Linked DNA regions of Homo sapiens: region 1 is linked to region 2. The links are contacts of gene promoters, found by promoter capture Hi-C in blood cells and fetal thymus (Javierre and others, 2016). All regions are on one chromosome and are shown on one strand. The core of a region is centred on a gene start or on the middle of the fragment in contact, and the rest is flanking DNA. Distances in the headings are between cores, read along the strand shown. Region 1 holds the start of LINC00324 (long intergenic non-protein coding RNA 324). Region 2 holds the start of KRABD2 (KRAB domain containing 2).

Evidence for each region. Contacts are between HindIII fragments. The CHiCAGO score rates a contact against its expected background, and 5 or more counts as called.
Region 1: a contact is called between the fragment with the promoter of LINC00324 here and a fragment that was not itself captured in region 2, in 1 of 17 cell types (erythroblasts). The highest score is 5.9, in erythroblasts.

What each region holds. Positions count from the first base shown.
Region 1 is chr17:8,222,489-8,226,033 of GRCh38, forward strand. It overlaps LINC00324 (long intergenic non-protein coding RNA 324), which reads right to left and starts at 1,555. Exons shown (of 3, transcript NR_026951.1): 1 at 1,324-1,555; 2 at 1-786. CTC1 (CST telomere replication complex component 1) reads right to left here. Exons shown (of 23, transcript NM_025099.6): 23 at 2,327-3,545. TRP-CGG1-3 (tRNA-Pro (anticodon CGG) 1-3) reads right to left here and starts at 416; the gene lies at 345-416. RefSeq lists enhancers at 1-108, 431-1,172, 719-848, 1,099-1,338 and a silencer at 319-368. The HindIII fragment of the contact is 13,535 bases long and covers 1-3,545 here.
Region 2 is chr17:8,375,276-8,378,832 of GRCh38, forward strand. KRABD2 (KRAB domain containing 2) reads right to left here and starts at 1,429. Exons shown (of 2, transcript NM_001304947.3): 1 at 625-1,429. It overlaps RPL26 (ribosomal protein L26), which reads right to left. Exons shown (of 4, transcript NM_000987.5): 4 at 2,241-2,417. The coding sequence ends at 2,289. RefSeq lists an enhancer at 1,068-1,619 and a silencer at 1,364-1,563. The HindIII fragment of the contact is 367 bases long and covers 1,902-2,268 here.

The sequences.
Region 1 (3,545 bases), core at 305-2,804, 150 kb before region 2:
GGACTGCAGAGAACCAAGTTTTGACAGTTCCTGGGCTCTCCCGAACACTGTCATCCACAACTATAGATTGACGCGTGTCAATCAAAGCGAAACCAGGCTGTGGTGGCCGAGTTGAGACACCAGGAAGGAAGTCAGGAAGCAGAAAGGGAGGGACCTGCCCAAGTCTGGGCGTGCCTCGTCTCTTCCTGACATGCCAGGCGGGTCTGGGGATTGAGATGCTTTCTGCTACCGCGGTGCCACAAAAGAGCTTACTGTACATTGATGACTTACAGTCAAGCCTCCTGCAGCGCTGGTCAGGTAACCTATTCCTTGAAGACACTCTTGTCTCAGTAAAAGGTAAAGGAGGGCTCGTCCGGGATTTGAACCCGGGACCTCTCGCACCCGAAGCGAGAATCATACCCCTAGACCAACGAGCCGACGTGCGGACGTTGCCGCGAACCGCCTTAGAGGTCGTGCCAGGCTTGCTGTAGTGCTGGGTCCACTATGCATGGCGGAACGGTCCGGGCGCACGCTCACGGACCAGCCTCCCCCAGGCCGAGTATTTTGGAGCACTGGGCTGGGAATCTCTTGGCTCCGGGCCGCGAGCTCCGGCTCCTCCCAGGAAATAGCGTCAAGGAAGTGGGAGGGAGTGGCCTCGGCCTCGCCCCCGCGCCGCCTTGCACGACTGCCTTGAACACCCGGGTTGTTGCTTCCTTTGGTTACCGACTTGGTGCCATTCCGTAACCTGGGATCTTGACACTTCCTGCCTCCGCCTGCGGTCCTTGGACCTAGCTCTTCGTTGCAGAGCTTTGAAGAGAAGCGGTGGAATTGCTTGCTTTCGGGACGGGCAGGAGAAATCACTAGGGGAACACCAGTGCCCCGTGTCTGTCTATCCTCCTGGGCTAACGGGCAGGGCAAACCCTGGGCCAGACCCATCGATAGTCCACGGGTTCCCCAGACCGCATGGCAGTACCCAAGCGAGGGAAAGAGGGAACGATTTCTGGGGCCCAGAAGACCCACGGAAGAGGGCGTTATTGAGCTGGGTGACTGGAGGGGGACAGGCTTTCCACCCTGCAGTGGGGCGGGGCGCAAGGCCAGGCGACTAGTCTCATGGCTTCCGGACTGTAAGATCAGGTTACCCCTACCCTACAGTCTAACCTCTGCTCCCCAGTCCCCTCCTAGAATGGCCTAGAAGGGAGACCCTCCTGCCTGCCTCCTAAGACCCCCCGAAGGCTCTGAGGCACGTGGCCGCATGAATGTGGTCGAAGGCCTGTAGACCCGGTTTGGGGACTTAGCAGTGTCCCCGGGACTGCCCAGTGAGCCTCTGCGCTCTTAAACACTCACCATGCTGCTCTTACTCCGGAGCTGCCCAGAGTCCCAGCAAGATCTGGTGGGGTCGGTAGCAGACCACGTGTCCTGCCTTTCCTCAGCTCAGTGCCTGTTCTGGGGAGTCCTCCCAGCGGGGTTCTGGCCTGCATCGGCCCTGGACCAGCCTGGTGTCATCTGTGGAACCATTTTGTTCTACACCCCAGTTGTGTGATTTGTGGGGCCAGGCCGTTCCTAATGCCCAACCCATAGATACGATGACGGGGCTTTCAGTGAAGGATTCAGCTCCTATTTGTCTTTCCCAGGTTCCCCTGGACAGACAGTGGGGAAGGGCAGCAGAAGTTAGCCCAGCCTTTCCCATTAGTGTCCCAAGTCTTTGAGATGGGTAAAGAGGTTCTCAGGGCTGATCTGGCATCTCCTCCCCCATTCCTACCCTTTTCCAATTCCTGTCTCCCTCCCCTTGGGCCCCAGCTTTCTCTGCAAAATAATCCAGTCACCTCTTCCCTGGCCTCAGGCACTTAAACGCTGCAGAAGGGGAGGCCTAAATCCTTTATGACCCTTATGAAAGCTATGTCCCTCTTCACCGGGCACAGTGGCTCACACCTGTAATCCCAGCACTTTGGGAGGCTGAGGTGGGTGGATCACAAGGTCAGGAGTTCAAGACCAGCCTGACCAAAATGGTGAAACCCCGTCTCTACTAAATATACAAAAATTAGCCAGGCGTGGTGGCGGGCGCCTGTAATCCCAGCTACTCGGGAGACTGAGGCAGGAGAATTGCTTGAACCCGGGAAGCGGAGGTTGCAGTGAGTCAATATTGTGCCATTGCACTCCAGCCTGGGTGACAGAATGAGACTCCCTCCGTCTCAAAAAAAAAAAAAAAAAAAAAAAGCTATGGCCCTCTTCCTAAACATGTATACAATCCAGGGAGTTCACACATAATCCCATCCACATACCCCACACTTTATTTTTTCCTCAGAAAAGTGCGTACATAGACCCCACTTTTAATAACCAAGAACTAACAAACAGCTGATCATTCGTTTATTTTATTTCATTTTTTTGAGACGGAGTTTCACTCTTGTTGCCCAGGCTGGGATGCAGTGGCGCGATCTCGGCTGACAACACCTCCTCCCCCCTCCAAGGTTGAAGCGATTCTCTTGCCTCAGCCTCCCAAGTAGCTAGGACTGCAGGCGCCTGCCACCACGCCTGGCTAATTTTTTGCATTTTTAGTAGAGACGAGGTTTCACTATGTTACCAGGTTTCACTATGTTGGCCAGGCTGCTGGTCTGGAACTCCTGACCTCGTGATCCGCCCACCTTGGCCTCCCAAAGCGCTGGGATTACAGGCGTGAGCCACCGCGCCCGGCCATACATGGCAAGTTTCTACATGGTGTTTCAGACTTAGCTGATCACCCTCTACCCTCAGGCCAGATTAGATTCCACTTCTCCCTGTTCTTACAGTGCCGTTAGTGCTGAAAGGGGAACGTGCCTTGTTCATTTGGTTCTGCACAGGGTCCAGCCCAGTGCTTGGCACAAACGTGGTCTCGGCAGTGCTGCATCCCTGGCTTGACCTGGAGGTAGCAATTCCTTCAAGCCATTTGCTCATCTTACATTGGTTCGTGGGCCATGGAATGGTGTCGAGAGCTTTCTGCCTATCTTCCAAGGAGGTTTAGGTCCTGCCAAGAGCTCACAGATCCTATTTCTTGCCTTATCTCTGGCATTTATTTCTTCCTTAACCAGCCTAGCTTCAGTGCTCCAGAAAAGTGCCCTGCCCTTCCACACCAGGATCCCTAGCGACTCCCGAATGATGCTTTCTTGGACTCTGTTCACATGGCCTCAGCCCTTCTGCACCCTGCTGCACGAAACCTGGTGCCAGGCCAGGCCAGGCCAGCCGGATCCCTGCTTACTCCTTACCCTGACATCCCGCTGGTGGAGAGGGATGGAGGTAACTGCAAGTGAAAGACCAGTTAGAGGACCGCATCTGGAAGCTGTGCCAAATTTTAAATACTGTATATTTAAATATATATTTTTATATTATATACTATATATATAACATTATGAGCCACCAAACCCAAAGAACTATAATGAAGAGCCAAACAAAACAAAGTGGCTCAGGTTCTAGGGGACGTCCTAGGGTGGAGAAAGAGGCCTGGAAGGTGGGCAGCCCCTTCCATCGAGGGTGGGGCGGCCGCCTGACCCAGTCCACCTGCACCAGTGGGGTGTGGCATCAGTTAAGCAAAGGAC
Region 2 (3,557 bases), core at 835-3,334:
GCTGGGATTACAGGCGTGAGCCACTGCACCCAGCCTCGATTTCTGGCTTTCTTGAAAAGGCAACATTCTGGCTGCACTGGCGGCATTGCTGCCTGGCAATAACTGGCTGTGATGGAGAGGCGGCATCTTCCTTTGGATCAAGCTTGTCCAACCTGTGGCCTGTGGGCTGCACGCAGCCCAGGACGTCGGGACCTACTAACCTATTCATCTTACTTGCCCACTCCTGCACATTTCTAAGCTTTCAATATCTTTTTTCTTTCATTTTTTTTTTTTTTGAGAGGGTAGGGTCTCACTTTGTCACCCAGGCTAGAGTACAGTGGCATGATCACGGCTCCCAGGGTCAAGGCATCCTCCTACCGCAGCCTCCCAAGTAGCTGGGACTACAGGCATGCGTCACCAGACCCAGCTAATTTTTTCTTTTCTTTCTTTTTTTTTTTTTTTTGTAGAGACGGGGTCTCATTATGTTGCCCGAGGCTTCAGTATCTTTTCCAAAGCAACATGAAAGAAATGTGACCGTAAATCAATCAGCTTCTTGGTGTGATCTATGTGACGGCTAGGTGATAAACGAGTTGGTCAGAGAAAACTGGAAATATTTCCAAAGCCATGTTTACTCCCTTCACCCACCTGTGAGTCTTCGCCTTGGCTGTTTCCGACTCGGAATGTCCTCGCATTGATCCTCCCAATCACAGCCAGCTGAAACCAGCCTCCTTCCTGACGTATTCAGTAACTTTAGCTGATTGCCATCTCTCCTTCATCTCAACAACCTGTACCACACTCACTGGAGCACTTCGCTTTGCATCTTTAGTCGACCAGTTCAGATATATACAACCTATAAGGTAGGGACGGAGGCTTCTACCTGCCTGTACCCCCTTTGGAGGGCCCACGAATACAGAGCTGAGCACAAAAGATGTTTAAAGGACATTTTGTCAAAAATGTCGCTTACAGGTAGGTCGTTATTAGCAAGGTAGAGCAGCGGTACGGCCGAGTCTACGCTTGGGAATTCATTTGCTGACTCTTATCATTTACTGACTAAAGCAAAGTTACTGAGGCCTCAGTTTCCTCATCTACAACCCGGGGAGATGACCAGTACCCATCACAATCGATTGCTATGAAGATTCAATGATAATGCAGATAAGGCACTTAATACAGTGTCCCCTCACCGTCCACACCACACGGGCACGCCCGCTTATTCCTGAGGACCGGGCTGGGATGTCGCCTCCTTTGTGTAGCCTTCCTACCCTGACTTCGCAGACTGCTCCCACCGCCTGGATCCATGCCCGTCCACCCGCCAGCTCAGGGCTGAACGGCTGAGGCGGGCGCGCGGTGGAGAAAAGAGCTGCAGACTGAGGAAGGTCAGGAAGGAGAAAGGGACACACCAGACGCGGCGTCTGAATCCCCCTCCACCCAGAGGCCCCCGAGCAGCAACTCCGCCCCACCTCCCGCCCGCTCCGCCGGAAGCCGGTCAGCGCCAGCCGGAAGCCCCGCCCCCTAGAGGCACCGCGGACACCGTGCAGCGCTGTTCACCCAGATGCCAGCTGTGACCTTGGCTAAGCCAGTGACTTAACTCGGGCCCGTTCCCCATTCCCACGTTGTTGCCAAGTCTCCAGCCTGGAAAGTAAACGGGCTTCAGGTGTCCTGTTTAGATGCTTAAAATGAGGAACGGCAGGAGCACACACACTGCTGCCACCTCACACCTTTTCACTTCATCCTGACGAAGCTGCAGTTTAGTTTATATTTTAACTCAAAGACGTGTTAGGTTTTGGTTTGATGGCACTCATCCAGCACTTGTGCAGAAAACAAGGTAAAGGGGGCCCATGGGTCTATCAGATAACCTGAACCCGAGACCTCTCAATCTGGAGGAACAGCTTGAAGAAGTCATCTAGAAGCTATAAAGTCACAGAAGCTTCTTATCCTATTGAAAGCAAGACTTCCTATCCAATGGCAATACAAACTTTTACGCAGTAAGGTAAAAAATATAGCCTGTCCATATAGCAACCTATCCATAGTAAGCAAGTTAAAAGACAGGTTCAAGAGGAAGTGTTTCCAACTAGCTTTTCTTGTAGGCCTTCTTCTTCTCAATGACACCCCTCCAGCTTCTGATATATCCTCAAATGCTGCTGCCCACTATAAAAAAAATCTCATCAGTCCTGATTTCAGAAAAATTTTAGACCAACAAATCAGAGGTAAGAGACTGATCCACTGAAAACTAGGGAGTGTCCTAAATCACCACACACAAAACACAGGCTCTTTGTTTCAAGTTTTAATCAAAGCTTGTATATAAGATTACTTTATTCCTGCATCTTCTCAATGGTTTCTTCCTTGTATTTGCCCTTTTCCTTTCCTACTTGGCGAGATTTGGCTTTCCGTTCGAGGATCTTTTTGCGGTCTTTGTCCAGTTTTAGCCTAGTGATAACCACCTGCAGAAAAATAAGAAAAAAACACTCCCAAGCTTTAAATAATCACTAAAACACAAGGGAAAGCCCAACATTCAATACCATTTCCCAAACCTGGGGTAGGTGGATGCCTAATAAGAAAAGATTTTAACTTTTAAAAAACTCCAGAAATCACTCTTTAGCCATCAAACCTGGCTTATTTACTAATTTCCTACCAACAAAGGAGAAAAGGCAAGATGGTATCAGTAATTCTTAAAGCCTCTTCTGTGCTTCATTATAAGATTTGTTTCTTTTTCACTGAGAAATATATGATTCTGCTCTTCTCACTACAGTTTTACAAGCTGTCATATACAAATATATTTGTTTCCAAAGTAACTTCAGGCTGGGTGCGGTGGTTCATGCCCCCAATCCCAGCACTTTGGGAGGCAGAGGCAGGCGGATCACCTGAGGTCAGGAGTTTGAGACCAGTCTGGCCAACACGGTGAAACCCCTTCTCTACTAAAAATACAAAAATTAGCTGGGTATGGTGGCACATGCCTGTAATCCCAGCTACCTGGGAGGCTGAGGCAGGAGAATCTCTGGAACCCTGGGGGGGCGGAGGCTGCAGTGAGCTGAGATGGTGCTATTATTGCACTCCAGCCTGGGCGATCAATCGAGACTCCATCTCAAAAAACAAACAAGTAACAAAACAGCAGGGTGTGGTGAATGCCTACTCAGGAGGCTACTGCGGGAGAATCGCTTGAACCCAGGAAGCAGAGGTTGCAGTGAGCTGAGATCGCACCATTGCACTTCCAGGCTGGGCGACAAGAGCAAAACTCTGTCCAAAACAAAAAAAACCCCACCCCCAAACAGAAAAATAATAAAGTAACTTCAGAATTTTAATGCTAGAAATTAAAGGTAGCATCCACACATAATTCCACCTGCAAAATCTTTAGTGAGAAGATGACAATACGATCTTACTCCAACAGTTCCAATCCTAAAAGACATCCAAATTATGATAAATTTTAGTCTTATGAATGCGAGGAAAGGGTGAAAAGAGGTGCTGGAAATACAGCATGCAGACCAAACAAAAATCTCCACAGTCACTGAACTCATATTCTAGTATAGGGAGCCCGAAAACATTTACAAGTGAATCTACATCACTTTGATAGAGTAAGAAGGCAA